7 separate regions of the Homo sapiens genome follow, and regions 1, 2, 3, 5, 6 and 7 are each linked to region 4. Evidence: promoter capture Hi-C in 16 types of primary human blood cells and fetal thymus (Javierre and others, 2016). All regions are on one chromosome and are shown on one strand. The core of a region is centred on a gene start or on the middle of the fragment in contact, and the rest is flanking DNA. Distances in the headings are between cores, read along the strand shown. Region 1 overlaps HPN (hepsin). Region 2 holds the start of FXYD1 (FXYD domain containing ion transport regulator 1). Region 3 has its middle 35 kb from the start of FXYD5. Region 4 holds the start of GAPDHS (glyceraldehyde-3-phosphate dehydrogenase, spermatogenic). Region 5 overlaps HPN-AS1 (HPN antisense RNA 1). Region 6 overlaps LOC124904701 (hepatitis A virus cellular receptor 1-like). Region 7 holds the start of KIRREL2 (kirre like nephrin family adhesion molecule 2).

Region 1 (2,899 bases), core at 215-2,714, 480 kb before region 4:
AAATGCCAGCGGCAGGGAAGAGAGCTACCAAGAGGGCAAAGGTTGGGGGTCACAGTCCCAAGAAGAGATGGCCCAAAGCAAAGACAGAAATACAAAAGCACAGTGTCACTGGGGAGGAGACATTCCCTAAGTGCCAGGAAAGTGCAGGGCGGAGGTGGAGACCGTGGCAGGTGGCCCGGCCATGCCCCCCTCCCAGCTGGAACCCTGGGGGAGCTGGGCACCTGGTTGTTCACACGGCAGGGGAGGAACAGCCCTGTCAACTGCTGGCCCCGGGAAACTGGGCCTGGGGAGGACATGCTTGGGCATAATAAGTTAGCCCTGGGGGCAGGGCAGAGCTGGCCTCGGGCCCAGACCCTGCCGCAATGAGGACAGGCCTGGCTGTGGCCCCAGCATGGTGTCTGTTGCAGGTGGCCGGACTGTGCCATGCTGCTCCAGACCCAAGGTGGCAGCTCTCACTGCGGGGACCCTGCTACTTCTGACAGCCATCGGGGCGGCATCCTGGGCCATTGGTGAGAGCGGTTCCTGTGCCTCTGACCTCCCCTGGCCCCTGCAGCCTCCAGCCTGCCTGCCCTCACCCCTCCCTTCTCTGCAGTGGCTGTTCTCCTCAGGAGTGACCAGGAGCCGCTGTACCCAGGTGAGTGGAGCAGGCTGGGACCCTCTGGGGGAGCCCTGGAGGACACGTGTATCTGGCGGGAGCTCAACAAGCGTATTTGTTGAATAAATGCACAAATGCATGCAGAAATGCTAATCATAATAGTGCATTTGTATTGAGTGCCTGCTATGTACCAGGCACTATTCTAAGCACCCCACATGTCTAACCCAGACTTTTTCAGACACCAGTGTATTACTCATGAGTGCCTCATAAAATTAAATTAGTGAGTTGGAAAACCATGTTTTTTTTTTAAGTATGAAATAGATTCGATTACAGACTATCACAGTACATCTCTCAGTAAGTAAAGGTTATGCTAATTTTTGTTTGTTTTTTTTTTTTTTTGCATCCATATACATGTAATCCCACTGCATCCCCACACTCTGAGGGTGGGACTGTTATTCTCCCTGTTTTACAGATGGGGAAACTGAGGCTTTGAGCAATGCAGCAGTTTGCCCCAGACTACAGAGCTATGGGCTACATCAGGATGTAAAAATGTGTTTCTTACTGCGTGGCATGGTGAAAACATGTTGGGGAGGCATGATATAAATTCAGTGGACCCTTCTAACTCTCCTAGGAGGTAGTTTTTTTGTTTGTTTGTTTTAAAAAAGAAAAAAGTCTTGCTCTGTCACCCAGGCTAGAGTGCAATGGTGCAGTCTCAGCTCACCGCAACCTCTGCCTCCCAGGTTCAAGCGATTCTCCTGCTTCAGCCTCCCAAGTACCTGGGAATACAGGCGTGTGCCACCATGCCCAGTTAATTTTTTGTATTTTTAGTAGAGATGAGATTTCACCATGTTGGCCAGGACGGTCTCTATCTCCTGACCTTGTGATCCACCCGCCTCGGCCTCCCAAAGTGCTGGGATTACAGGCATGAGCCACTGCGCCTGTCCCTGGTAATTAGCTCCATTTTACAGATGTGCAAAATGAGGACCAGAGAGGACATGCAGCTGGGGAACGAGGGGCCAGGAACAGCTCTTAGACTTATCCACTGTAAGTGTGTCTGCAGGCATGTGGAATGAATGGCCACACAAATAAATAGATAAAGAAACTAACTGTGGGATGAATGAATGAATCTTCCCAAATGCCAACTTCAAGCTGCCATTCCCTGATGCAGGACAGCAGGAAAAAAGGGGAAGTTGGGTGGTGGGATGTATTTTTCATGTCTGTGAGCCTCATCTAATTCCATAAAGGATTCAGTTCACACTAAAATCAGAAATGAAAATCCAGACAAGAAAAGCCAACATCAACATTAATCATCATTACCAGCACTTAGCATTTGTATGCACCAGCCAAGGCCTTGGGACCTTATGATATCAACTCATTAAGTCTTCCCAACAACCTGTTGTTTTTCTTTTCTTTTTTTTTTCTTTCTTTCTTTCTTTCTTTTTTTTTTTTTTTTTTTTGAGATGGGGTCTTGCTCTGTCGCCCAGGCTGGAGTGCAGTGACACGATCTTAGCTCATTGTAACCTACATCTCCTGGGCTCAAGCAATCCTCCCATCTCAGCCTTCTGAGTAGCTGGGACTATAGGCTAATGCCACCATGCCTACACAAAATTATTTTGTCAATAACAAATTATTGTTATTTTTATCTTTTTGAGCCAGAGTCTCGCTGTGTCGCCCAGGCAGGAGTGCTGTGGCGCGATCTTGGCTCACTGCAATCTCCATCTCCCAGGTTCAAGTGATTCTCCTGCCTCAGCCTCCTGAGTAGCTAGGACTACAGGCACGTGCCACCACACCCAGCTAATTTTTGTATTTTTAGTAGAGGCGGGGTTTCACCATGTTGGCCAGGATGGTCTCAAACTCCTGACCTCAGGTGATCCACCCGTCTCGGCCTCCCAAAGTGCTGGGACTACAGGCATGAGCCACCACACCCAACCTCATTTTTTAAATTTTTAGTAGAGATGGGATCTTGCTACATTGCCCAGTCTGATCTTGAACTCCTGAGCTCAAAGCAGTCCTCTCAGATCAGCCTCCCAAAGTGCAGGGATTACAGGTGTGCACCACCACAACCCATTTTCCTATGGGGATGCTGAGGCACAGAAAGGCTGAGTGACTTGCCCCAGGTCATGGAGCTAGTCAGTGTCAGGGCTGGGATTTGAACCCAGGCAGCCTGCGTAGTAACTGTATATAGTGTCTACACTTGATTGCTTGTTAAAAAAAAAAAAAAAGAACAGCTGAATTCATTGCCATAGTAAAGACTGACATATGCCAGGCCCTGGCGGCAGCCTTTACCCAGCAGGCCTATGAAGT
Region 2 (2,889 bases), core at 378-2,877, 390 kb before region 4:
CTCAAGTTCACACAACCAGGAGTGCAGTGCCTGGGCCATTCCAGGTTTCCCTGTCACCAGGACCTGTAAACCTGGCCTGCCCATGGGGACGCCAGGTGTGTTGTCCCCGACAAGAGCTCAGGGGAAGGAAAGTGTGGGGTTAAATACATATCTGTGGTTTTGGAATGTGTGAACATGCAAGTGTGTCAGCCTGCGCATCTGTCACCGTGGCCAACCATGTGCCTGTTTGCTCAAGCATAGGGTGTGAACCAGTGTGTGTGTTTCTGCTTTTGTGGGTATGTGTGAGAGCGGCGGGTTGTCCTTGATGGTGTTTCTGCTTGTGTATCTGTGCCCATGGAAATCTGTCTGTGTGTACACAAGCTTGTTGGCCTTCCTATCTTTGGGACCATGTAGGAGTGCTGGCTGCATGTCTGTACCTTTGGGGTTTTTTTGTTTTGTTTTTGTTTTTGAGACAGAGTCTCGCTCTGTTGCCCAGGCTAGAGTGCAGTGGCATGATCTCAGCTCACTGCAAGCTCTGCCTCCCGGGCTCAAGTGACTCTCCTGCCTCAGCCTCCGGAGTAGCCGTGATTACAGGCGCACGCCACCACACCCAGCTAATTTTTGTATATTTTTTTAGTAGAGACGAGCTCTCGTCGGGTTGGCCAGGCTGGTGTTGAACTCCTGGCCTCAAGTGATCCTCCCGCCTTGGCCTCCCAAAGTGCTGGGAGTACAGGTGTGAGCCACCGTACCTGGCCATGTTTGGCCATGCATCTTAGAATGCATTTATGTGCGGTGTGCACATACTTGTGTGTTTCTGTATGGCCATTTGTGGGTGGGTCTTCACATAAACATGCATTTTTGTGGCCAGTTTGTGAGTGTAGATGGTGATGTGGCTATGTCTTTGACTGTATCTCTGTGTGGCCATCCATCTACATGAGCGTGCGTGGGTCTGTGTAGACATAAATGTGCTTGTTCTGGTATTTTGTGACTGGCATAAAAGGTGTTGGCTGTGTGTCCGGGTCTTTGGGTTTCTCTATCAGTGTGTCATTCTGTGTGTGTCTGCTTCTATGGATGTACATACATACATGGTTTTGTCTGGTTTTGTACCTGTATATCTGGGTCTTTGGGATTGTGTGTGGGTGTGTGTGTGTGGTGCATTTCTGGGGATCTCACCACAGCAGATAGCGCACATGCGCGCGCACACACACACACACACACACACCTCCCTCCCGTCCTCTAAAACAGCCCTGTTAAGGACCTCACGGAGCACTGGGATCGGGGGTCAGTGGGCTCCTGGGCAGTCAGGCTGGGTGACCTTCGGCCCTGGCTGGACCCAGTTCCCAGGGGGCAGCCGCCTCAGCCCAAAAGCTCTTGGAGGCGTGTGTGTTTGTGTGTGTGTGTGTTCACAACCCTGTCCTCCACAATCCTCCTAGCCTCTCCAGCCTGCCTGCTGGCTGCCTGCTGCTGCTCTCTCTGAACTGAGAGAGTTAACCAAGCGGGCCAGGGCAGTCTGGGCTGGGGGCCGCCCCCTGGCCCCCCTCCAGCCCCAGCTCCAGTTTCAGCTGCTGGTTGGGGAGGGCATGGGTGGGGTGGGGCTGGGAGGGGAGGCTGCTGGGGGCGGCGCGTCCAGCTCTGGGCCAGGGGGTCCAAAGTGCTCAGCCCCCGGGGCACAGCAGGACGTTTGGGGGCCTTCTTTCAGCAGGGGACAGCCCGATTGGGGTGAGCGTCCCCCACTCCTTCCCTCCAGGCCTCACCCCTGGTCTGGCTGGGCCGCCTATTTTGGGAGCAGGAGTGGCCAGCCCGAGGCTTCCCAGGCAGGCCAACCCAAGAGGGAGGGAGTGTGGTTGAGGCAGTGGGTTCTGCAGGGTGGGATGTGGGTGACTCCTCCCTGCCCTGCTGGTGCGTGTGCACCCTGGCAGGGTGTGGAGTTGGGACACACACGTGTGTAGGGCTGGTTGCGTCACTGCGTGGGGGCACCGGAGGCCCAGAGGAGGAGTATTGGATGCCTGACGGTGTTTACACCCCACGTCCTGCTCCAACCAGCAGTTTGGGGAGAGGTTGTTGTTCATGTCCATTCCGGCCCCACTGTGTGTGTGTGTGTGTGTGTGTGTGTGTGTGTGTGTGTGTATCCCTGCCCCAGCATGTGTTTTCTATCTCTAAGGCCCACTGGGCTGGGCCTCATGTCACTTGCCTGACATCCGATTGTGAAAGATGTCACCCAGAGGCGGGCAGAGGGGCTGTCTTTTCCTTTTCTCGTTGCTGCCCAGGGAGGAGACGGGGTGACCTTTCCCACAGGGGCAGCCTGTGGCGATGTGGCAGCTGGGCCTCACCCCGGCAGGGCTGTGCGTGACCCCCTGAGTGGGGGAAGGCAGGCTGTTGCCATGGTGGCCTGAGCGAGCAGAATTCCTCCAGGGTGAAGTGGGAGATATTTATACCCGGGGTCAGGCCGCGAGCGGGCGGGCGGAGAGGGCAGGGAGCTGGGATTTCGCGGGGCACAGTGAGGCCGGGCATGTAGGCAGGTGGGACTTGGGCGTGCCCTGCTGTCTCCTGCTCTGTGTTTGTGTGAGGCAGCGCCTCCTCTGCCCTGCCAGGGTAGGTCTGGGAATCGGGGGCCTGCTGCGGGAGGTGGAGGCCCAAGGGAGGCCCCCCGGGGACTGTGTGTCTCACCCCCGTCCCTGCTACGTTGTGTTGTTGTGTGATCCCATCGTGGAGGTTGTTTTGGTGACACTGTGTCCCCACGAAGCTGGGGATACCCGTTTCTCTAGCTTGGAGCCACCAAGATAGAGGACAAACACTTCTGTGATTCAGTCCCCAGACTGTCTCTGACTTAATCCCTTGGGTTCAAGCCCTATGTGGGAGAGCAAGGGCACACACTGCCTAATCCGTGGTGTCCCCCCCAGGACAATGGCG
Region 3 (2,763 bases), core at 164-2,663, 340 kb before region 4:
CTATTTGGGAGGCTGAGGCAGGAGAATCGCTTGAACCCAGGAGGTGGAGATTGCAGATCGCCACCATGCCTGGCTAATTTTTGTATTTTTAGTAGAGACAGGGTTTCGCCATGTTGGCCAGGCTGGTCTCGAACTCCTGACCTCAGGTGATCCTCTCACCTGAACCTCCCAAAGTTCTATGATTACAGGCATGAGCCACTGTGCCCAGCCGCATGATTTTGATTTTAATTTTAAAATCAAAATTTTATACAGATTTGTTTTGTTGCCTAGTGCAGGTTCTATCCTACAGAATATTCTCCGTGCAGTCGAGAAGATTGTGTATTCTGCTTTTGTTGGGAGAAGTGTGCTATAGTTGTCTGTTATATCTGGTTGATTAATACTGTTCAGATCTTCCATTTTCTTGTTGATTTTATGCCTAGTTGTTCTATCCATTATTGGAAGTGAGGTACTGAAGTCTCCAACTATTATTGTGGATTTGTTCATTTCTCTATTCATTTTTATTAGTTTTTGCTTTATGTATTTTGGTGCTTTATTATTAGATGTATATGTGTTTATATTGTTATATATTCTGATGGACTGACCGCCTTATCATTATACAATGCTTCTCTTTATCTGTAATAACTTTTTTGTTACAAAGCTTATTTTTTCTGACGTTAGTATTGCCACTCCAGCTTTCTTGTAGTCACTGCATGATATATTGATATATTGTCTTTCATCATTTTACTTTACATTTTTGAATCTTACATGTTTTTCCTATAGATAGCTTTTGGCTGTATCTTGGTTTTTAAAAAAAATCTAGTCTGAAATATTTGACTTTTAATTGAATTGTTCATTTCATCAACATTTAATGTTATTATTTATACAATTGGATTTACATCTGCCATATTAGCTTGTGTTTCCTACAAAATTTCTTTATTAGTGCCAGGGGTTTTTTGTTTTATTTATTGATTGATTTTATATTTATTGAGATTTTCTACATAAACAATCATTTCAACTGGGGATGGGAACAGTTTTATTTTTTCCTTCCCAATCTATATGCCTCTTACTTCCATTTCTTGACTTATTACACTGGCTAAGACTTTCAATATGATGTTGAATAGAAATGGTGAACATGCTTGTCTTGTTCCCAATCTTAAGAAAGAAAGCATTCATTTTTCACTGTTTGGTATGATATTAGCTGTAGGCTTTTTGATGCTCTTTATCAGGTTGATGAAGTTCTCTTCTATTCCTAGTTTGCTAGGATTATTTTTTGCAAAACAAAACAAAACATGTATGAGTGTTTTATTTTGTCAATACTTTGTCTGCACCTATTGATATAATCATGATTTTTCTTCTTTAGATGGTTAATATGGTAATAGTGATTGATTTTAAAAAATTGGACCATTGTTGCATTCTTAGTATAAATCCCATTTGGTCATAGTTTATTGTATTTATTCATTTATTATTATTATTATTTTGAGACAGAGTTTCACTCTTGTTGCCCAGGCTGGAGTGCAATGGCAGGATCTCGGCTCACCCCAACCTCTGCCTCCTGGGTTCAAGTGATTCTCCTGCCTCATCCTCCTAAGTAGCTGGGATTACAGGCTGTGCACCACCATGCCTGGCTAATTTTGTATTTTTAGTAGAGATGAGTTTTCTCCATGTTGGTCAGTCTGGTCTTGAACTCCTGATCTCAGGTGATCCGCCCACCTCAGACTCCCAAAGTGCTGGGATTACAGGTGTGAGCCACCGCGCCCGGCCGGTCATAGTTTACTACTCATTTTACATATTGCCGAGTTCAATTTGCTAACATTTTATTGAGTATTTTTGCATCTATATTCATGAGGAGTATTTTAGTTGTGTTTATTATTATTTTTTGTACTGTCTATCTGGTTTGTCATCAGGGTAATGCTGGCTTCATAACATGAGTTGGAGAGTATTTCTCCTTTTGTATTTTCTGGAAGAAATTATGAAGAATTAGTGCTATTTCTTCTTTAAATTACTTATTTAAAACCATTGAAACCACCTGGGCCAGGAGATTTTTTAAAATGGCATTAACTATACATGCAATTTATTTAATAGTTACTAGACTATTCATATTATCTATTTCAACAGTGGTGAATGTAGTAGCTGGTAGTTTTTGAGAAATTGGTCCATTTCATCTAAATTTTGATATTTATGTGTATAGAGTTATTACTGATATTCCTTTATAAGCTTTTTAATAATTATAGGGTCTGTGGTGATAGCTGTCCTCTTTCTACCCTAATATTGATAATCCCTCCCTTCTCTCTCTTCTCTCTTTATCTCTACCTCTATCTCTTTCTCTCCCTTCTTCTCTCCTCAGTCTTGTTAGAGGTTTATCAATTTTACTGATCTTTTCAAAGAAACAGCTTTTGGTTTTACTGATTTCTTCTATTGCTTTTTTGTTTTCATTGATTTTTGCACTTATTTTTTCCTTGCTCTTCATTTGGGTTTATTTTGCTCTTCATTTTCTAATTTCCTATGGTGAAAACTTAGATTATTGACTTGAGATCTTTCTTCTTTTCTAATATAATCAACATTTAAGACTATACATTTTTATATAAGCACTTCTTTAACAGAATTCCACAAATTTTGATAGGTTTCTTACTTTCTTTCAGCTACAAATATTTCCTAATTCCCTTTGGAATGTCCTATTTTTCAAATGATTAAAGATTGTCCTGTTATCTTCCTGTTATTGATTTCTAGTTTAATGCTGGCCAGGTATGGTGGCTCATGCCTGTTATCTCAGCACTTTGGGATGCC
Region 4 (2,806 bases), core at 246-2,745:
CTGAGGCGGGAGAATCACTTGAACCCAGGAGGCGGAGGTTGCGGTGAGCTGAGATCGCACCATTGCACTCCAGCCTAGGCAACAAGAGCGAAACTCTGTCTCAAAAAAAAGAAAAGAAAAGAAAAGATTAGCGATCAGATGAAACCTGAGGAATTGACATTTATTCATTCAGGTATAGTTTATTGGGCTAACGCCTTTTTCAGACAGGGTCTTGCTCTGTCTCCCAGCTGGAGTGCAGTGACACAATCACAGCTCACTGCAGCCTTGACCTCCTAGGCTCAAGTGATCCTCCCACCTCAGCCTCCCTAATAATTGGGACAACAGGCATGCACCACCACACCTGGCTACTTTTTTTATTTTTTGTAGATACAGGGTTTTGCCACATTGCCCATGTTGGTCTCAAACTCCTGGACTCAAATGATCCTCCCACCTCAGCCTCCCAAAGTGTTGGGATTACAGGCATGAGCCACTGCGTCCAGCCCACAAACACCTTTCAGGTGCCAAACACTTTTCTTGTCAATGGGATACAGAAGTGACATAGATGACGTCCCTGTCCTCTCAGAGCTTACAGTCTGGTGGACAGAGACAGTTGGCAAGAAAACAAACAATTTTTAGAGAGACATGTGCTCTAAGGAAAATAAAAACATAGACAGTGTAGCCCTAGAGAAATTTTGCACACTGAAGCATAACTCAGAATGGAGAAGTCAGACAAGGCTTCCTGGAAGATGGGCAGAAATTGGGAAGGGGGTGACGGCTGACAGTGACAGAGAAAGGAGGGAACTTAGATGCAGAGTGTAGAAAGCCTCTCTTAAAGGGTGGGAAACCAAGAGGCAGCCAAGGGAAGCCCTGGGTGGGCCTTCCAGGCATACGGAGGCAGCAAGAGTCACTCCACTGGAGAATCCAAGGGACAGCATGGAACCTGTGTGCTTCAAGAGACAGAGAAGAGGAAAGGGCTTTCAGGAACAGTGTAAAAGGTGGGATTCCAGGCTGGGTGTGGTGGCTCGCTCCTGTAATCCCAGCATTTTGGAAGGCCGAGGTGGGAGGATCGCTTGAGCCCAAGGGTTCTAGACCAGCCTGAGCAAAAGAGTGAGACCCTCTCTCTACAAAAAAATAAAAAGTAAAAATAGCCTGCAGTGGTGGCTGCACATGTAGTCCCAGCTACTCAGGAGGCCGAGGCGGGAGGATCGCTTGAGCCCAGGAGTTCAAGGCTGCAGTGAGCCATGATTGCACCACTGCACTCCAGCCTAGGAGAAAGAGTGACACCCCGTCTCAAAATAAATAAACAAATGATAATTTTAAAAAGTGGGATTCCATTCCAGACGGCAGTGCGTGGCCGTGGAACGGTGATGCATAGCGTGCTGACGTCCCATGCCTCTACGGGGATGGGATGCGATGGTGTCAGGCCTCTGGCTTGGGCGCCGCCCCTCGGCGACGTCACTGGGTACTGTGACGTCACTGGGTGCTGTGACATCAGGGCAATTAGCCCAGGACCCACAGCCCTGGCGCTCCGCACGCACCTCGGTAACATCACAGCAGGTCCAGGCCAATGATAACCTTATAAGAGGCCATGTCGAAGCGCGACATCGTCCTCACCAATGTCACCGTTGTCCAGTTGCTGCGACAGCCGTGCCCGGGTGAGGGAGGCAGCGGAGGGCGCGGGGGAGGGGTGGAAAGGGTAGTGGGGAGCGTCTGCACCCTCACACCTGTGCCGTATCCCTACCGCCCTTCCTGGCGTGTGCACCATCTAGGGACCAGGGGATCAGCCGCTCTCCCTCCCTCCACACCCGCCAGTGTGCTGGCAGAGTGGGGTTTACTGCCATGGCGGGGAGACCGGGCCTCCGCCCCCAGGGCTGGGTGGGCTTCGCGCCGCTATCACGCGGTAGAAAGAGCAGAAACGAGGGCCATCGGAGGCTGCAGCCTGAAAGTGGCGGGAAGTGGGCGGGCTTAGGAGGGGCTTAGGGAGAACCCAGGGGTGCTGGGCTTCCATGTAAAAGTGATGTTCATGGCGCTTCGCGTGAGGTGAGCTTTGCCCTCCCTGTGATGCACAAAACAAGGACACTTGGAACCTTGCCGGGGACGTGCTGACCACTTCGCAGGCGAGAGCTCAGGGAAGCCTCACCACCACCTGAGAAGGCCAGAGTGTGCCCGCAGTTTACAGAGCGGCCAACAGAGGTTAAGAGAGGGCAAACTACTTCCTTAGTCTCTCAACAAGGGCGGCGCGCCCGCGCGCGCGCACACACACACACACACACTCACTCACTCACTCTAGCCGGAGGAACCAGGTCTTCCGGTGGGCTGCCTCCATTCCCACACTGTTCCCTCACTTCCCAAGGGCGGGGGCCGCAGGGGTAGGTGGGGCTGGGGCTTTGGTCCAGGAGACCCTGGAAGACACAGGAGCAGACAGGCTTACCAGCCTCATGAGACTTGAACCCCTGCCCTGCGCATCACTGCTCCGTGGCCTCAGGCTTCATTTTCCCCTCTGTAAAGTGGGTTTATAGCGCATGCCTCTCGGGATTCAGTGGGAGGACGCAGTGAGGAGCTGGGGGCAGCACCCAGCTAGCCCCCAGGCTTTTCTCCAACCGGGGGACCCCACCCCTACAGTGGAGGGGAAGAGAGTGCAAGGCTGGGAGTGCTGGGAGAGGAGGACCATCTGAGTTTTCTTCGGAAGGGTCACCCATTGGGCTCAGATTCCCACCTGAACCAGGTGGACAAATCCCCTTTCTCCCATAGCAGAAACAACCCCCAAGGATGCAAACATCCTCAAGTTCACCAATAAACACTAACACCTTCATGAACTTGGACAGCC
Region 5 (3,039 bases), core at 283-2,782, 460 kb before region 4:
ATAACTTCCCAACATTGCCACGGCATTTGTAAATTGTCATAGCGCTGGTGGGGGTGTAGCAGTGAGGACAATCAGAGGTCACTTTCATGGCCATCTTGGTTTTGGTGGGTTTTCCCGACTTCTTTACTGCAGTCTGTTTTATCAGAAAGGTCTTTATGACCTGTATCTTGTGCCGACCTCCTCTCTCATCCTCTGACTTAGAATGCCTTAATTTACCGGGAATGCGGGCCAGCAGGTCTCCGCCTTACTTTACCCAGGTCCTATTTAAGATGGAGTTGCTCTGGTTCAAACGCCTCTGACAGCCATTCTGAGTTCTGTCTGCACTGTTGCTTTGTTGGAGGAGTGGAGGGGCTGGGGAGATTGTGATTCACTCAACAGCCATTCACTGGTTTCCCTTGTATGCCAGGGGTCAGTGAGCCTCAGTTTCTCCTCCTGCTCCCAGCAACCTTGCCACTCACCCCAAAGAGCTAGGAAGATATTTAAAAAGAATAATAACAGTCACAAGGTTGCTTTCAGTTCCTGCCAGGGTCTCAGTCTTCAGAAAAGCTGAATATGAAAATTACTTCCATGTCATTGTGGTGCCGCTCAGAATCAGAAATATTTGACCCATCTTACAGAATTAGTGCAACTACATCAGGAACCCAAGCCAAGTTTTGCATTCCTATTTAGCATTTATATCTACATAGTCCTTTTCAAATATAGAAAAGCTTTCTGGATGTTAGTTGGAACAGATAGCTCCATATGTGGTTATAAGTTGGCATTCTCCCAGCTGGGTTGAAGGAGAAATGTACAGCTACTCTGCCACAACAGTTATTTCATACATAAAATCACAGCCATGATTAGCAATGATGGTGAAGGCTATTCATTTTATATTCAGAAATAATTATTGTGAACATTCAGATAGCAGCATAAGTAGGGAGATGGACTTTAGTTTCTGCATAAAAAGTAACACTGTTTCAATCCTGCAGTTATGAAGCGAGGAGCTGTTTTGGCTCTTGCTGCATGACATACCACCCAAAGCTAGTGGGTACAGTAAATGCTCATGGATTCTGCAGCTCAGAAAGTTGGACAGGGAACAGCAGGCACAGCTTGTCTCTGCTCCCTGATGACCAGGTCCTTAGCTAGAAAGCCTAAAGGAACAGGGACTGGAATAGGGAGGCTTCTTTTGTTTGTTTGTTTTGAAACAGGGTCCCACTCTGTCGCCCAGGCTGGAGTGCAGTGGTGTGATCATGGCTCACTAAAACTTCTACCACCTGGGCTCAATCGATCCTCCCAACTTAGCTTCCCAAGTAACTGGGACTACGGGTGTGTGCCACCATACCCAACTAATTTTATTTTTTTTTTGTAGAGATGGGACTGGTTGCCCAGGCTGGTCTTGAACTCCTGGGCTCAAGTGACCCTCCTGCCTCGGTATCCCAAAAGGAGGCTCTTTACTCACAAGTCTAGTATCCGGGCTGGGATCACTCAAAAGCTGAGCTCAGCTGGTACTGTGGACTCATTGTCTGGCTAACTTGGGCTTCCTTCCAATATGGCTACCCAAGGACATTTGAACTTCTCACGTGGTGGCTCATGGCTCCAGAGTGAGCATTCCAGCAGACACTGGCCTTTACACCCCAGCCTCATTTCTGCTCCACTCTGTCAGCTGAAGCAATCACAAACCTGTCCAGACCCTAGAGGAGGAGATGGAGACCCCACCCTTTGGTGGTGGAAGGCAGGTCAAAAAATTTGGGGCCACATCTTAAAACTGCCCTAGGAGCTTATGGACTATCGGAGCAAATTAACAGCTGACAAAGCAGAGAAATGATCCCTCAGTAAGGTGTTCAACCTGAAATATTTCCCTGCTAAAATTGTGGATAATAAAATTATGACAGTAATAACTTTTTAGAACACTTTCACATTTGTTCTTACATTACAGAAGTTCATTCTAAGAAGGTGATAGTCAGCTTTGGGCAAATCTTTAATTTAATACTTCACTAATTAGCATTTGGCCACAATGCCTGTTTCACTTCTAAATAATAATAATAATTTATATTAATAAACATATCCATGCATATTTTTGAGCACTTCCTATGTGACAGGTACTGTACTGAGAGTTTTATACATGTTACTTCAGTATTTCCCCAAATTCAGATGTTTGAAAGTGGCTGTCTTAATTTTTGCTATTCATTCATTCAAATAATATTTATTAAGCACCTATTATGTGCCAGACACTGTTCTAGGAATTGGAGAAATATAGGGGACAGGACAAACCAACTTTATGGAGCTTAGGGGCAAACAAATACCGCTGGTACTACTTGTATTGTTTTATTCAAATTATCTCTTTTCCTTTTGTGTGTGTGTGTGTGTGTCTTTTTTTTTTAAGCTTAGCCTTGACTTTATTTATGTATTATTTTTATTGATTTATTTATTTTGAGACCGGGTTATGAGACTGGCTAATTTTTGTATTTTTGATAGTGATGGGGTCTCGCTATGCTGCCCAGGCTGGTCTCAGACTCCTGGGCTCAAGCGATCCACCTGCCTTGGCCTCCCAAAGTGCTAGGATTACAGGCATGAGCCACTGTGCCCTGCCAGCCTTGACTTTAACAATAATGTTTATGAAACTGTGGGTTTGAGGCCGGGTGCAGTGGCTCATACCTGCAATCCCAGCACTTTGGGAGGCCGAGGCGGGTGGATCACGAGGTCAGGAGATTGAGACCATCCTGGCTAACACGGTGAAACCCCATCTCTACTAAAAATACAAAAAAATTAGCCAGGCATGGTGGCGGGTGCCTGTAGTCCCAGCTACTCAGGAGGCTGAGACAGGAGAATGGCGTGAAGCCGGGAGGTGGAGCTTGCAGTGAGCCGAGTTTGCGCCACTGTACTCCAGCCTGGGCGACAGAGCGAGACTCTGTCTCAAAAAAAAAAAAAAAAAAAAAAAGAAACTGTGGGTTTGATGTGGCGGTGGCAGATATATGTTTTTCAATATAAATCAAAACAAATGTATTAAATAAACAAATGCTAGTGAAATAATAACAATTCCTTCTTCACTGCCATCCTATA
Region 6 (2,875 bases), core at 72-2,571, 440 kb before region 4:
TCTGGCTAATTTTTAAATTTTTTGTAGAGATGAGGTCTGACCGTATCGCCCAGGCTGGTCTCAAACTCCTGGACTCAAGGGATCCTTCTGCCTCAGCCTCGCAAAGTACTAGGATTACAGGCATCAGCCACCACACCCAAACCATTTGTATTATTTTGATGGCCAACATTTGAGTAGTGATCACACATCAGGTCCCATACTGCTAATAATAATAATTAAAATGTGGCCAGGCGCGGCGGCTCATGCCTATAATCCCAGAACTTTGGGAGGCTGAGGCGAGTGGATCACCTGAGGTCAGGAGTTCTAGACCAGCCTAGCCAACATGGTAAAACCCAGTCTCTACTAAAAATACAAAAATTAGCTGGGCGTGGTGGTGTAGCAGGACGAGCTGCAGACAAAACCCCTCAGACACTGAGTTAAGGAAGGAAGGGCTTTATTTGGCCAGGAGCATCGGCAAGACTCACGTCTCAAAAAACCGAGCTCCCCGAGTGAGCAATTCCTGTCCCTTTTAAGGGCTCGCAACTCTAAGAGGGTCCACGTGAGAGGGTCGTGATCTATTGAACAAGCAGGGGGTATGTGACTGGGGGCTGCATGCACCAGTAAGAACAGAACAGAACAGGACAGGGATTTTCACAGTGCTTTTCTATACAATGTCTGTAATCTATAGATAACATAACTGGTTTGGTCAGGGGTGGATCTTTAACTACCAGGCCCAGGGTGTGGCGCCGGGCTGTCTGCCTGTGGATTTCATTTCTGTCTTTTGGCTTTTACTTCTTTCTTTGGAGGCAGAAATTGGGCATAAGACAATATGAGGGGTGGTCTCCTCCCTTAGTGGCAGGCACCTATAATCCCAGCTACTCGGGGGCTGAGACAGGATAATCACCTGAACCCGGGAGGCAGAGGTTGCAGTGAGCCGAGATTGTACCATCGCACTCCAGCCTGGGGGACAAGAGTGAGACTTCGTCTCAAAAAAAAAAATTTTAAATGTATTGGGGGCTGGGCACAGTGGCTCACACCTGTAATCCCAACACTGTGGGAGGCCAAGGTGGGCGGATCACTTGAGGTCAGGAGTTGGAGACTAGCCTAGCCAACATGTCAAAACCCTGTCTCTACTGAAAAATACAAAAATAAGCCGGGCATGGTGGCACATGCCTGTAGTCCCAGCTACTTGGGAGGCTGAGGCACAAGAATTGCTTGAACCCAGGAGGCAGAGGTTGCAGTGAGCTGAGATAACACCACTGCACTCCAGCCTGGGTGACAGAGCAAGACTCCATCTCAAAAAAATAATTAAATGAATAAGCTAAAATATATTGGGTATTTACTTTGTGTTCATGCCTGGGCTAAGCATTTTATGAATAGTAATAATAATAATAATGGCTAATATATTAAGAGTTTGGGCATTTACAATGTGCCTTGTGTAAGCATATTAAAATAATGGTGATATTAACAATAATAATGGCTGGTATGTACCAGGCATCTGCTGTATTGCTGTGCTAACCAGTTAATGATATATAATGATAACCATCGTGAACATATTTTGGTCATTTGCTGCGTGTGTAATCCTGTCATCGGGATAAAAGGTAATATTTTCTGAGTGCTTATTATGCCTTGAGCACTGGGCCAGCATGTTATTAATAATGGTATCAGATATATGTCAAGAACTTGGTTACTGTAGGCCAGCTGGGTGGTGAGAGCCTCATGCGTATGACCGCACTGACCTTCAAACAGCCCTTTGATTGCCTCCAATGTGCAGAGGGGGAAACTGAGGCTACAGGATGCACAGAGATCTCAAGGGACAGAGCTAGGTCTGGACTCCAGGTCTCTCTGACCCCAAAATTGTGCTGCTAATCACTAGGCTGTGCTTTCCACTGAGAGAAAGCAGGTGTCACAAGTTTGCTGCCCTCTGGGTAAGGCAGTAGCCTGTCATGATGGTCAGACCCCCAGCTGTTGAATCTGGGCATGGCATTCCTGCCCATCCCATGCTGAGCCGGCCCCTGAGCCTCTGCTCTTCTGGGTCAGCTGCCAGGCCAGCCTCGGGCCTCCACCAGGCCCTGTTTGGGTCCACCTGGGCTGGGCTGGGCAGGGCATGCTGATCTGGCCTCCGACCTGGTCTGGCTGAACCGATGCACCCGCCGCTGCAGCTGTGACAGAACGGGGCATTTCCGCTGCAGCCCGGCGTGCTGCCCCACTGGGAAGATCTGTGGTCTGCAGGGTGGCCAGCTGGGCTGCCAGAGCCCCCTGGGCACCTGCATGGCCACTGGAGATCCTCATTACTTCACCTTCGATGGGGCCATAGCCCACTTCCAGGGCACCTGCACCTACCACCTGGCCTATGCCATCCATCCATTCATCCATCTATCATCCATCCACTCATCCATCCTTCCATCCATTCATCCATTCATCCATCCATCCATCCATCCATCCATCCATCCATCCATCCATCTATCCACTCATCCATCCTTCCATCCATCCACTCACAAAATTTTTCTGAGTATCTACTTTGTAGCAGGCCCTGCTGTAGGCTCTGGAGACACAGCAAAGAACAAAAGAGACAGGTCTCTTCTCTCCTAGAGTGCACATTATAATAGTGAGAGACAAACAGTAAAAAATAAATACATAATATTTCAGATGGTGATAAGTCCTAGAAAAATAAAACTAGAAAGGAGAATCAGGAGTGCTTGTGAGTATGGGGTGGGAGTTATAATTTTTAAACAGGGTGAGCAGGAAAAGCCTCATTGAGGAGGTGACTTTGGAGCAGAGACTTGCTGGAGGGAAGGAGAAGCCTTATGAGCAATGAGGGAAGAGCCCTCCAGGCACAGGGAACCTTAGGTGCAAAGTCCAGACGCAGAAATGCCCTTAGCCTTATTAAGAAAGA
Region 7 (2,734 bases), core at 231-2,730, 320 kb after region 4:
AAACAGCCCCATGACTTGAGTTCCTCCCTAAGACTCAGGAGTTCCAGCCCCATGTCCATCCTATTTCAAAATCCAGGCACTAGATAAGCCACACAGAAGCCGGGAGTGTAGGCCCCCAGATCCCTCCCCTCTCAGACCCTGGGGTCTCAGTCCCTTCTCTCCAAGGACTCGGGAATTTGGGCCTCTGATCCTCCTGGCCACACTACCCACCCCCGCACCTCCCCATACACACACACACACACACACACACACACACACACACACACACACACACACATACACACAGGACTTAGGACAGATGTTCACGGTCTGATTTCCAAATCCTCCTGGGCCTGTGTGGGGGTGGGGAGAGATTGGCAGATAGATCCACCGACTCTTAAGACTTAAGACCAGATATTCTGACCCCTGTCACCCTCTTCCAAGTGCACCATGCACTTGAGTGCACCTTGAGTCTCCAGCCTCTCAAGGAACCGGGAGATCAGGCCATCAGCGTCTCAGCCAGCAAAGGCCTGAACCACCAGTCCCTTATAACCCTGTAAGTCCAACCCCCACTCCCAACCCCACTCCCCCATTTAGGGACACGGAGTCTGAGCCTAAGAACAGTGGAGAATCTGAATGTGGACCCTCCAGTTCTTACAGGTCCAGGAATGTCAGATCAGGGTCCCAGCCCCCCAGCCCTCCTTCAGGCTGCTCGGGGTCCCTCCCACCTGCTCGGCCAGCTGCGCAGCGTGGGAACGCCCCAGCTGGGCTGCATGGAGCCGTCAGGACAAGCTGCGCGGTTCCCAGCCTCCCTGCCTGCCCCGGCCCGGCACCGCCGCCTCCCAGCCGTCGCCGGGCAACCAGGCCGAGGGGCCCGGCCGGCCGAGTGGGGAGAGGGGTTGGGCTGGGACTGCGGGGTCCTGGGAAAGGAGGGGCCGAGGGCCTGGATTCCTGGGTCTTAGGACGTGCTGTAGTTTGCAGCAATAACAAGGGAACAGAGGGATATTTTGAGGAGGGGTTTTGAGGCTGGGGGAGTCGAGGTAGGGGTCCCAACTGTCCCCCAGGTATCGGTGTGCCCTCTTCCCGACACGCAGGCCCGGGGGAGCCCCGGACCCCGCATCCCCCAGGGCGCGGAAACTGGCGAGGCCCCAGGAGCTCCCATTTATAGCTCAGTTTCCACTGAGCGCAGTCCCTCTAGGACCTGGGCTGAGCAAGTTTCTTCCACTCTCTCCCTTCCCTCCTCCTCACCCCTTGCCTGCCCCTCAACCCCGGCAGGGCGCAGGTGTCCAACCCAGCCGGGACCCCCTCCCTCCTCGAACCCAGGTGTTCCGGCTCCCAGACCCCAATTGAGCTGGGGGCGCCCACCCGCCGGGGGATCCCGCCCTGCGTCCCCCATTCATCCGCGTCTCAGCCGCGGGAGTTTCTCAACGGGAAGAGGGCGGAGCTCCCGGGGGGCGGACCCGGGCGGGGCGAGCGGGATCGGGCCCTCTTGGGGTCTCCCAGAGACCCAGGCCGCGGAACTGGCAGGCGTTTCAGAGCGTCAGAGGCTGCGGATGAGCAGACTTGGAGGACTCCAGGCCAGAGACTAGGCTGGGCGAAGAGTCGAGCGTGAAGGGGGCTCCGGGCCAGGGTGACAGGAGGCGTGCTTGAGAGGAAGAAGTTGACGGGAAGGCCAGTGCGACGGCAAATCTCGTGAACCTTGGGGGACGAATGCTCAGGATGCGGGTCCCCGCCCTCCTCGTCCTCCTCTTCTGCTTCAGAGGGAGAGCAGGTACCGCACGAGGGGAGCGGAGGAATATGGGGTGGGGGTGGGGAGTTGCTTGCGGGCTGCCTCTTCACTAGCGAGAAGGGAGCTGGGGGCTGGGACTCCTGGGTCCTGAATGAGGAGGCCCCTGAAGGTGCTAAGCTCAGCCCTGCTGCCCCGAACTCTCCTAGGCCCGTCGCCCCATTTCCTGCAACAGCCAGAGGACCTGGTGGTGCTGCTGGGGGAGGAAGCCCGGCTGCCGTGTGCTCTGGGCGCCTACTGGGGGCTAGTTCAGTGGACTAAGAGTGGGCTGGCCCTAGGGGGCCAAAGGGACCTACCAGGTAAGAGTGTTCTCTCCACGCTGGGACGGGCTGGCTAGGGGGAGAGTTGCTGGGCTCGGCTGTACCTGCAGTTTCTATTTTGACATTTTCAAGTTTGGGAAATTGATGGGCTCGGGTAAACATTTAGGAGTCCTGATTTTTGAGCTGCTTCTTTGGGGGTGACCCACGGAGTTTGGGAATTATTATGTTATTGCAAAATAGTACATAGGCCAGGTGCAGTGGCTCACGCCTGTAATCCCAACGCTTTGGGAGGTTGAGGCCAGAGGATCGCTTGAAACCAGGAGTTTGAGACCAGCCTGGGCAACATAACAAGACCTTATCTCTACACAAATGTATATATATATTTTAAACAAATTAGCCGGGTATGGTGGTGTGCATCTATAGTCCCAGTTACTCAGGAGGCTTAGGTGGTAGGATTGCTTGAGCCTAGGAGTTCAAGGCTGCAGTGAGCCATGATCAAGCCACTGCACTTCAGGCAATGGTGAGACCCTGTCTCAAAAAAAAAAAAAAAAGAGAACATAAATGCAAAAAAGTACAGTAAATATAAATGGAAGATTTACCAAATAAAATAGACACACACAGCCAATACCCAAGTCCATTGCTAGCTCCCCAGAAGACCCCGTGTTCCTTTCCCCTATCATAGCCCCCTCCCCCTCACTCCAGAAGTAGT

Evidence for each region. The method cuts DNA at HindIII sites, captures the fragments that hold promoters and counts their contacts. A CHiCAGO score of 5 or more calls a contact.
Region 1: a contact is called between a fragment that was not itself captured here and the fragment with the promoter of GAPDHS in region 4, in 4 of 17 cell types (naive B cells, total B cells, total CD4 T cells and 1 more). The highest score is 6.5, in naive B cells.
Region 2: a contact is called between the fragment with the promoter of FXYD1 here and the fragment with the promoter of GAPDHS in region 4, in 10 of 17 cell types (monocytes, erythroblasts, activated CD4 T cells and 7 more). The highest score is 8.8, in monocytes.
Region 3: a contact is called between a fragment that was not itself captured here and the fragment with the promoter of GAPDHS in region 4, in 1 of 17 cell types (monocytes). The highest score is 5.4, in monocytes.
Region 5: a contact is called between a fragment that was not itself captured here and the fragment with the promoter of GAPDHS in region 4, in 4 of 17 cell types (M0 macrophages, M1 macrophages, naive CD8 T cells and 1 more). The highest score is 6.8, in M0 macrophages.
Region 6: a contact is called between a fragment that was not itself captured here and the fragment with the promoter of GAPDHS in region 4, in 1 of 17 cell types (non-activated CD4 T cells). The highest score is 5.6, in non-activated CD4 T cells.
Region 7: the fragment with the promoter of KIRREL2 here is called in contact with the fragment with the promoter of GAPDHS in region 4 in 5 of 17 cell types (M0 macrophages, M2 macrophages, erythroblasts and 2 more); the score reaches 12.1 in M0 macrophages.

What each region holds. Positions count from the first base shown.
Region 1 is chr19:35,048,883-35,051,781 of GRCh38, forward strand. It overlaps HPN (hepsin), which reads left to right. Exons shown (of 13, transcript NM_001384133.1): 3 at 408-509; 4 at 593-634. Among named protein-coding and RNA genes, the nearest start is that of HPN, 8.6 kb to the left of the region's middle. The HindIII fragment of the contact is 5,328 bases long and covers 1-2,899 here.
Region 2 is chr19:35,137,197-35,140,085 of GRCh38, forward strand. It overlaps FXYD1 (FXYD domain containing ion transport regulator 1), which reads left to right and starts at 1,628. Exons shown (of 8, transcript NM_021902.4): 1 at 1,628-1,698; 2 at 2,880-2,889. The coding sequence starts at 2,884. The HindIII fragment of the contact is 25,239 bases long and covers 359-2,889 here.
Region 3 is chr19:35,188,518-35,191,280 of GRCh38, forward strand. No RefSeq gene overlaps it. Among named protein-coding and RNA genes, the nearest start is that of FXYD5, 35 kb to the left of the region's middle. The HindIII fragment of the contact is 1,556 bases long and covers 636-2,191 here.
Region 4 is chr19:35,531,961-35,534,766 of GRCh38, forward strand. It overlaps GAPDHS (glyceraldehyde-3-phosphate dehydrogenase, spermatogenic), which reads left to right and starts at 1,496. Exons shown (of 11, transcript NM_014364.5): 1 at 1,496-1,634. The coding sequence starts at 1,568. RefSeq lists an enhancer at 2,353-2,482. The HindIII fragment of the contact is 5,250 bases long and covers 1-2,806 here.
Region 5 is chr19:35,069,152-35,072,190 of GRCh38, forward strand. All of the region lies in intron 3 of HPN-AS1 (HPN antisense RNA 1), which reads right to left. Among named protein-coding and RNA genes, the nearest start is that of HPN, 29 kb to the left of the region's middle. RefSeq lists an enhancer at 1-95 and a silencer at 1,480-1,680. The HindIII fragment of the contact is 1,655 bases long and covers 706-2,360 here.
Region 6 is chr19:35,092,036-35,094,910 of GRCh38, forward strand. The region is part of intron 1 of LOC124904701 (hepatitis A virus cellular receptor 1-like); the gene reads left to right. All of the region lies in intron 2 of HPN-AS1 (HPN antisense RNA 1), which reads right to left. Among named protein-coding and RNA genes, the nearest start is that of HPN-AS1, 13 kb to the right of the region's middle. The HindIII fragment of the contact is 6,053 bases long and covers 1-2,875 here.
Region 7 is chr19:35,855,431-35,858,164 of GRCh38, forward strand. It overlaps KIRREL2 (kirre like nephrin family adhesion molecule 2), which reads left to right and starts at 1,481. Exons shown (of 15, transcript NM_199180.4): 1 at 1,481-1,750; 2 at 1,915-2,064. The coding sequence starts at 1,690. The HindIII fragment of the contact is 4,263 bases long and covers 1-2,734 here.